3 separate regions of the Homo sapiens genome follow, and all the other regions are linked to region 1. Evidence: promoter capture Hi-C in 16 types of primary human blood cells and fetal thymus (Javierre and others, 2016). All regions are on one chromosome and are shown on one strand. The core of a region is centred on a gene start or on the middle of the fragment in contact, and the rest is flanking DNA. Distances in the headings are between cores, read along the strand shown. Region 1 holds the start of ADCY7 (adenylate cyclase 7). Region 2 has its middle 13 kb from the start of LINC02168. Region 3 holds the start of CYLD-AS2 (CYLD antisense RNA 2).

The links. Contacts are between HindIII fragments. The CHiCAGO score rates a contact against its expected background, and 5 or more counts as called.
Region 2: a contact is called between a fragment that was not itself captured here and the fragment with the promoter of ADCY7 in region 1, in 6 of 17 cell types (naive CD4 T cells, naive CD8 T cells, total CD4 T cells and 3 more). The highest score is 8.3, in naive CD4 T cells.
Region 3: a contact is called between a fragment that was not itself captured here and the fragment with the promoter of ADCY7 in region 1, in 1 of 17 cell types (total CD4 T cells). The highest score is 5.1, in total CD4 T cells.

What each region holds. Positions count from the first base shown.
Region 1 is chr16:50,265,161-50,267,923 of GRCh38, reverse strand. It overlaps ADCY7 (adenylate cyclase 7), which reads right to left and starts at 1,373. Exons shown (of 26, transcript NM_001114.5): 1 at 1,244-1,373. RefSeq lists enhancers at 1,601-1,690, 1,636-2,229. The HindIII fragment of the contact is 14,845 bases long and covers 1-1,577 here.
Region 2 is chr16:50,818,699-50,821,461 of GRCh38, reverse strand. No RefSeq gene overlaps it. Among named protein-coding and RNA genes, the nearest start is that of LINC02168, 13 kb to the right of the region's middle. The HindIII fragment of the contact is 9,826 bases long and covers 1-2,763 here.
Region 3 is chr16:50,800,798-50,803,560 of GRCh38, reverse strand. CYLD (CYLD lysine 63 deubiquitinase) reads right to left here. Exons shown (of 19, transcript NM_001378743.1): 19 at 1,626-2,763. CYLD-AS2 (CYLD antisense RNA 2) reads left to right here and starts at 216. Exons shown (of 3, transcript NR_187251.1): 1 at 216-524; 2 at 1,285-1,438. The HindIII fragment of the contact is 3,568 bases long and covers 1-2,763 here.

The DNA.
Region 1 (2,763 bases), core at 124-2,623:
ACAACTGGGTGGGAAGCGAAGGCTGTGCAGCAAACGCCTTCCTGAGCTGCAGCCCCCTCAGCCTCCTGCACTTCCTGCAGGGCTGGCACTTGGCACTTCCTCTCAAATTGGCTGGCTTGTCACTTTTATGTCTCCTTTGGCCTCGTCTAAGACAATAATACAGTCATGATGTCACAATGGCAATGTCCTATTTACAGATTTTTTTTTCCCCAAGACAAATACTTAGATTTTAAACATGTCCTTCCACACACAGGCTAGAACCCCCTGTGATTCCCTGGGCAGCCCGGTCCTCACTCCGAGAAACACTGGTGTTGAGTCCACCCCTCACAGCCTCCATCTGCAAGATGGTGATGCTAGTGAAGGCCCACGGTCACATAGCCCTTCCAGACACATCCAGCCCACACTGGCTGCCCGTCCAGGCCTTGGACCCAGGGCCCCTGTCGTAGGTGGCTCGGCCTGGCCCCTACCTCCAGGCCCTTGGCTTCCCCCTCCCGGCCCTCCCTTCTCCTCTCCAGCAATGGCTGTCCAGGGAGGAAGCCCCCAGCCACAGATGTCCCTGCCCTTGACCCTGATGTGATGACACAGAGAAGAGGCAACTGCCTCACCCTCTGTACATACATGTTTAGATGAATGCATAGAAAGCTCCAGAAAGACCCGCTCCAGAAAGACCCACTCCAGATGGCCCATGCGGTCCCTGGGGGATAGAGGAGAGGCATTGCAGGGAAAGGGAAACCAGTCTGCTTTTTGGAGGCATCTTGGTTTCCTGACCCTCAGGCATGCACTCCTTTCAGAGGTTTTGTTTGTTTTTTGTTTTATAATTTCATAAAATTAGTTGAATTGGCCTTCCCTTGCCAATGTTTCCTTTCATTGAGAAAAGTCATGTGTGCTTGTAAATGTAAAATTACACCCTCGAGAAGGAGTGTGGACATTTGAGAGTCTGTGGTTCCTAGAATTCCAGATGGAACGGGCCACATGTACAACATTGTGGTCACAACCGCACTTTCTTGTCAGGCTGGGAAAAGCCAGTGACAAGTCGCCTCTGGTCCCCTGTTGAAGGGCCGCCTCTCCCAGCCATCTGCCCAGTAGGCTCACGGAGCCTCCTACTCCCCCAGCCCAGACCCTGCCCAGTGCACTCCCAGGCCAGGCTGCCGGGTGAGCTGCTTCCCACCCACTGTCCAGCCCCGTCCCCTGGGGCTCAAGCCACTAGGACTGGTGACACTCCATCCCCACACCCCACTTTTACCTGGCTCTCCTCCCCGGCCCCAGCAGCCGGCCAGGGTCTGCAGGGAGGTGGCCCGGCCCCCGCCTGCCCTTCCTCAGACGCGCCCAGGCTCACCCATCCGAAGGCTCCTTCCACGCTACCTAATGAGAGTGAGTCACATCTGGGACCCACCACTTCCTGCTCCGGCAGCGGCAGCAGCGGCGGCGGCGGCAGCAAGGCTAAGGCACAGCCCACAGCCCAGCCTCTCGGGGTGTGCAGGGCCCCCTCCCCCAGCCACAGTGCTGCTCTCCGCAGCCTGGGAGCTGCCAGGCCTGGGAGCTGTCGGGCTCCAATGACTTCATGGAAATTTGAAGCTTGAAGCTGGAACAATTTTGAAAAAATAATAATAAAACAAGCACCAAAAACCTCCATTAGAAGCCCCAAGACAACTGTTCAAAGTGGGGAGCAAATGCATCCTTAGTGAGCAATTAGCAATTAGCGGCCTGGCCTGAGCCTCCTGTGGGCTCTGACGCTCACAGACAGGCCCCCCGCGCCTTCCTGGGACTCAATTTCCCTATCTATGTAGTAAGGTGGCCCCGTCCACCTCTGAGAGGGGCCCAGGAGAGGTCAAAGATCTTCCAGCCCAGCCCACTGCCTCTCCATCTCACCTACGCTCCCATGCTGGGAGCAGGGCAGGGGCAGGCCCATCCTTGGGGCTCCTATTCCAAAATCAGAGTCCCTGGAGAGCCCCCAACATCCCTGGGCACCATGAGGCTGGGAATCAAACCCCAGCACCCCTTCTGCTATGCCAGGCCTCAGTTTCCCCACTGGGATCATGGGGCGCTCAGTGGCGAGGGAGCAGATCAGGAGAGGCTAAGAGGAGAGAGTGGAGACTCCCAAAACAGAGGGGGAGGCCTCCAGCCCGCTGGCCACAGCAGCACCTGGTCCTCAGGGAGCCCTTCTGAGCATGTGACTGGCATCCTGGGATTACGAGCTCCTCAAAGCAATGGTGTACCTCCTCCACCTCCCACATCCAGGGTCAGACACCCCTCTTCTGGTCTTCTAACCCCTGCACCTTCCTCCATCACAGCACCTCTGTGCTGTGACCACTGGTTGCTGGTCTGTCTTTCCTAGGTTATATCCTTGAGGAGGGCAGAGATGGGAGGGCAGCTGTAATATCAACAGCTGTGTCCCCAGCGTCCAGCCCCAGCTGGTCACAGAGTAGACATCCCACACATACTGATCAGGAGGAACTGAACATGTTAGGTGCTGTCTCTGTGCCAGGCCCCATGCAGGGAACTAGCAGGTGATCTAAGGTCTGCCATCTGGTGGAGACAGGCATAGGACTCACACAGGGTTCCAGGCTGCTCCAGAGGCCACAGGAGGGAGTGGGAGACCTCAGGGGATCCTCCCCATCAGGGTCGCCCTCCTATCAGCAAATGTCTCCCTAGCAAATGTCCCAGAGCAGAGAAGGAACAGACATCATCATCATCAAAAGAGGGGAAAGACAAGCCACTGACTAGGAGAAAGTCACATCCTATATGACTGACAAAAGACTCCTC
Region 2 (2,763 bases), core at 141-2,640, 550 kb before region 1:
CCAGGCTGGTCTTGAATTCCTGACCTCAGGTGATCCACCCACCTCAGCCTCCCAAAATCCTGGGATTACAGGTGTGAGCCACCACACCTGCCCTGTGTGTCTTCTTTTCTGTCTCTTATCAGGATACTTGTCATCAGCATTAGGGCCCTAATCCAGGTATAAGATCACCTTGAGGCCCTAGTCTTAATCGCATCTGCAGAAATCCTTATTCCAGATAAGGCCACTTCTGAGGTTCAGAGTGGACATATCTTTGGGGAAGCTGCTGTTGAACCTCACCCAGACTCTACTTTTGGAGAATGGCTTGGAGGGATCAGCTCCTCGCTCCTGGTTTACCTCTTCTCCTTCCGCTAAGTAGCCAATCAGAAAAAATCTCCATGTGATACTAGAACCCAGAGCTCAAGTTATTAGAAAGCCAAAAACTGAATTTCCCATTTCTTAAGAGCAGGGAAGGCCTTGTCTTAGGAAAACACAACTGCTAAATCTCCACTCTCTGAAGGAGAGGGTAATTTATATATATCTGGGGAACATCCACCCTCCCCTCAAACCACTCCAGGAATAGGCCGAAGCCCTCCTTCAAAGGGAAAGCAGGCTGTCATTTTCAGGTTGACATAAATTCTCATTCTCTGCACAGATAATTTTCAGGATGCAATGAATGAGACAAGCAGGGTGAGTACTAAGTACTGAGCATAAGGGGCTGGGGGTGTTGGTCCTCCTTCCCATTTCCACCAGCCCATCCCCCTTACTTTAATGTAAATAATTGGGCTTTTCTGACTCCCGGGCAAAGTTTATGCAAACCCATCCCCAAGTCTCTTTCTTCCAATGAGGGCCCTTCCTACAGGGACAATTTCAGAACCAGTGCATTGGTGCACATGGAAGGAGAGATATTCTTTGCTTGGATAATCAGGGAAGGCTATACAAAGGGAGAAAGCAGACACCTGAATTGGGCTTTAAGAGCATTCCTAAGCAGAGGAAACAGAATTGAACCAAGCAAGACAGAAGCAACACATAACAGAGCAAGGCACAGGTCAGACACGATAAACAGATTTGTAGTAGGTACCAGGAGAGCTGTGTTTAGAAGGATTCTGAGGTCACAGCCAGGCTCAATGCAAAAGTTCGATGATCAGTTAATGATGTCTGCTGTGAGAGCGGTGATATACAAGTCATCCCTGACCTAGGGTGTCAGCAGAGTTCGATGTCATGGAGGAGAAAGCGAAATAACTATAATTCATTTGGACAAATGAAGTTGATTCCTAAAGCCACCTGTTATAGGTTAACTTGTTTCCCCTCCAAAAAAAGACATGTTAGAGTCCTATTCCCCAGTCCCCTAGATGTGACCTTATTCAGACATATGGTCTTTACAGAAGTACTCAAGTTAGAATGAGCATATTAGGATGGGCCCTAATCCAATATGACTGATGTCCTTATAAAAAGGGAACATTTGGACAGAGAGACAGAGGCATTGACAGAAAGCCTCGTAAAGAGATGCAGGGAGAAGACAGCCATCCACAAGCCCAGGAGAGAGGCCTGGACCAGTTCCTTCCCTGATACCCCTCAGAAGGAACCAGCCCGGGAGGCAGGATACGTGGACCCCGATGGCCTTCCCTTTATGCTAAGGATTGCAAACTTAATTATGTCTGGTGTCCAGGCCCTAGCAAGCAGCCAGGTGGGGACTGCGGAGAATGGCAGAGCTCAGGGCTGATCGTGGGGGTCCTCTGCTGCCCCTGGGTGCCCTTGTAGATAACAGTGCCTGATGTGCCAACTCCTCCAGTTTTTTCGAGAAAGGCTGAAGATCCAGATTTTGTGTGAAATCTTCCATTTTCTTAAACACTGATTTAATTAGAGTTCTCCAGAGAAACAGAACCAATAGAATATACATGTGTGTGTTTCCATATACAGAGAGAGAGTGGGAGAGACAGAGAGACAGACAGAGACAGAGGGGTTTATTATGAGCAACTGGCTCCTTCTATTAGGGAGCCCGAGGAGCCCCTCAGTCTGCCATCTGCAAGCCCTTTGGGCTTGGACTGGAACTACACCAGTGGCTGTCCTGGGAGAGCAGGTGGAGTCAATCCCAGTCTGAGGGCAGGAGATGAGAACAAGATGTCCCAGCTCAAGCTGTGAGGCCAGAAAAAAGTGGGGGTGGATTTTTCTCTTTTTAAAATTCTATTCAGGCCCTCAAAGGATCGGATGTCCCCCACCCACAATTGCTTAAGCGAGTTCACGGATGCAAATGCGAATCTTGCCTGGAACACCCTCACAGACACACCCAGAAGCAGTGTTTAATCTGGGGACCCACTAACCCACTCAAGTTGGTACATGAAATTAACCACCATGGCTGGCAACTTTTCACAAGTTTTTGCAAGCCTCATGCAGGCAGGCCTTGAGTTTGCAACCTCCACTCTATGACCCACAAAACAGGGAAAAGGCTATGGTTCGCAATCTCTATTGCTTCTCCTAGAAGGGGTAGAACTTCCTTGGAGACACAGACCACCCCATTCCAGCCCTTGAGGGAATGGTGTACCCTCAGGGGCAGGAATGGGGCCCCTGAGGGTACACTCTGAGCCACTGGAACTAGAGTTCCAGCCCAAGCCCAAAGGGCTTGCAGATGGCAGATTGTGGGACTTCTCAGGCAGCCTGAGCTTGCAGCCCTTACCCACCAGACTCTTCTCAACTCTCTGATGCACTCCCTGTTATATCCTCCCTGGCTCCTGTTCCCTCCCTCCCAGGTAACCACATGTCAGAACCTAGCCCTTGCTGTATCTGGAA
Region 3 (2,763 bases), core at 192-2,691, 540 kb before region 1:
CAGAATGTTCCACCAGGGAATGCCAAGTTGATTCTGTCTCCCTCAGAAAACTCCATTCCTCCTGACAACTGGTTCCCAATCCTGGTTGCACAGTCACAAGGAGTGGGGACTATGAAAAAGTGTGCCAACCCTTGAATCTGACAAGGAAGATCAGTGATGTCATAACAGCATTGTTTGGATATCAGCATGCATATCCACCCATGGGGTTCTGAAACAGAAATGCATAAGGAGCTTTGACAAGGACCCACTGTCTGGCCCCATCTTCAGAGATTCCAATAGGTCTGGGGTGTGCACAGGCACTGGCGTCTTTAAAATCTCCCTGTGTGAATTCAACATGCAACCAGGATTGAATGGAGAACTGCTGCTCGAAGTTTGATAATGAGGTGATAATGAGGAAGAACATGCCTCAGCAAGTCAGAAAAAGGGGCTTAGGGGAGGGCCAGTGGCTCCTCCTTCGGCCAGGCCAGCTTTCTTCTGACAAGGACTTGTTTTCACAACTGTCCAGATCCGCAGATGGGCACAAGGTATGTACTGTCGCCGTCACGGTAACAGACCCAAACAGAGTCACAAGGAGTGGCGACTATGAAAAAGTGTGCCAACCCTTGAATCTGACAAGGAAGATCAGTGATGTCAGAACAGCATTGTTTGGATATAAGCACGCATATCCACCCATGGGGTTCTGAAACAGAAATGTTCTTCAATGTATTGTCAATACCAGTATTACCAACTCAGACCATTCTAGCTTTCCTATCATGGCACATTAAGTGACTTAAACTCCAAATAATTTCCAAGGAAGGTTGATCTGTTACCTAAAAGAAGACTAAAGTAGGAATTTCAATACACAGTACATCGTGCGACCATTCCTCTGGTTATCACAAAAAAGTAAAATATTTAACTGCCTCTGTGGAAGCTGTGGTAGAATGGGACACACTACTGGCCAGGTGTGGTGGCTCACGCCTATAATCCCAGCACTTTGGGAGGCCCAGGCAGGCAGATCACTTGAGGTCAGGAGTTTGAGACCAGCCTGGTCAACATGGTGAAACCCTGTCTCTACTAAAAACACAAAAAAATTAGCCAGGCATGGTGGTGCACGCCTGTAATTCCAGCTACTTGGGAGGCTGAGGCAGGAGAATCGCTGGAACCTGAAAGACAGAGATTGCAGCGAGCCGACATCACACCACTGCACTCCAACTGGGGCGACAGAGCGAGACTCCATCTCAAAAAAAAGAAAAAAGAATGGGACACACTACTCCTTAGGCAACAGTGTTGGGTTCATGTTTATAGATGATGGAATGAAGCAGCGGGGGACAACTTCTGGCTGGAGTGGCTTGGAGGCTGGAGCAGCTGAGCTTTAACAAGCATCAGAGGTCAGAATTACTTGGCTAGATCAAGAAGCCACACAGCATCATAATGCCGCTGGCACATCTCCCAGAACAGGGTAAGTGTGTGAGGTTTTCTAAAGCAATTGTAATGGTGGTAGAGGCTTGATCAAGACACAGAGGTGTGCCCAGGTATAGCATTTCCTCAAAGAAATCTTACCACAGCAAAAACTTAAAGTGTTGTAGAGACCCAATTCCAGCCTTCTCATAACCCAAAACCCTTCCCTCAAAGAAATCCAGGAAAAGGAACCATAAAAATGTAATTTTAATGATACAGAAATAGTATATGTACATTTCTTTCCACAGCAGCACTTCATTCATCTCTAAAAAATTTAACAAAATTAAGGCTAAATCAGAGCGAGCTGATAGGAAGGGGTATTCTATGTGGTGGTCTTCTTAAAGAATGTTCTCATAAATATAGGATGTTCTGCAGACAAGAAATAAAAATAAAACATGCTGAACAAGATACCAAAAATGGGAAATGCAGTAGAAAATGAGCCCCTTTCTACCAATCTACTAAGAATCCCAACTCCCCTGGGAAGTTTCAGATGGGATGTGAGTTCTTTTAATGAATGTTTATGATCTGATGCTAAGACTTTCTAAAATTAAAATTCCACAGTACTAGGCCATTTTATAAACTAAAACCAAGGGCAGTTGAGTCTCCAATATAATCCCTCTAGAATTTTTTAAGTTAAAGTGGACAATATTTGAAAGTACTAATTTTATCTGAAGCTGTGGTGCTTGAAAGGACAATCCCTCCATTTGTGGCCCTTCTCCCTAACCCATGTTATAAAAATAAATGAAGACTTTAAAACACAGTGAAATAAAAATGCCATCACTGCCAAGGCAAAGGGCCAGGAAATCAAATGTGGTTCTTGAGTAACCTGGCTACAGAGACTGCTGGATGCTACAATCAGGGAGGAGGAGGACCTTCCTTTCCCACTTTTTCATTATCCTTGGCCACACTTGCTGGTTAATGCATTACCACTGCATCCTGACTCAAGAGAAAACCTTCAGCTGCTCCAGGATTCAGAATAAGATGAACAGTCTTTCTCCCCTCCTCCCACCTCTTCTCCCCAGAAAGGTCTGAAGGGGAACGGAGAAGGGCAATGCGAACACCCTGCAGGAAGCCTCAGTCTAAAACCCTAGTCTCTGTCAAGAGGGGCAATCCCCTGACACCCGCAGAATCCTGGTCTTCATAAGGCCCCACACACATCTGCTTTAAGGGGTTTACATTCCTTCTTCCTCTGCCTCCTCTTTTGCAGTGAGTTTTCATTTTAACATCGCTTTCTCCTCCCCGACTCCTCACCTGCTTTGGGGAATTCAAATGTTATCTTCATTAATGGAGAATTGCACCAAACCCTAGAGAAAGGAGTATTATTTT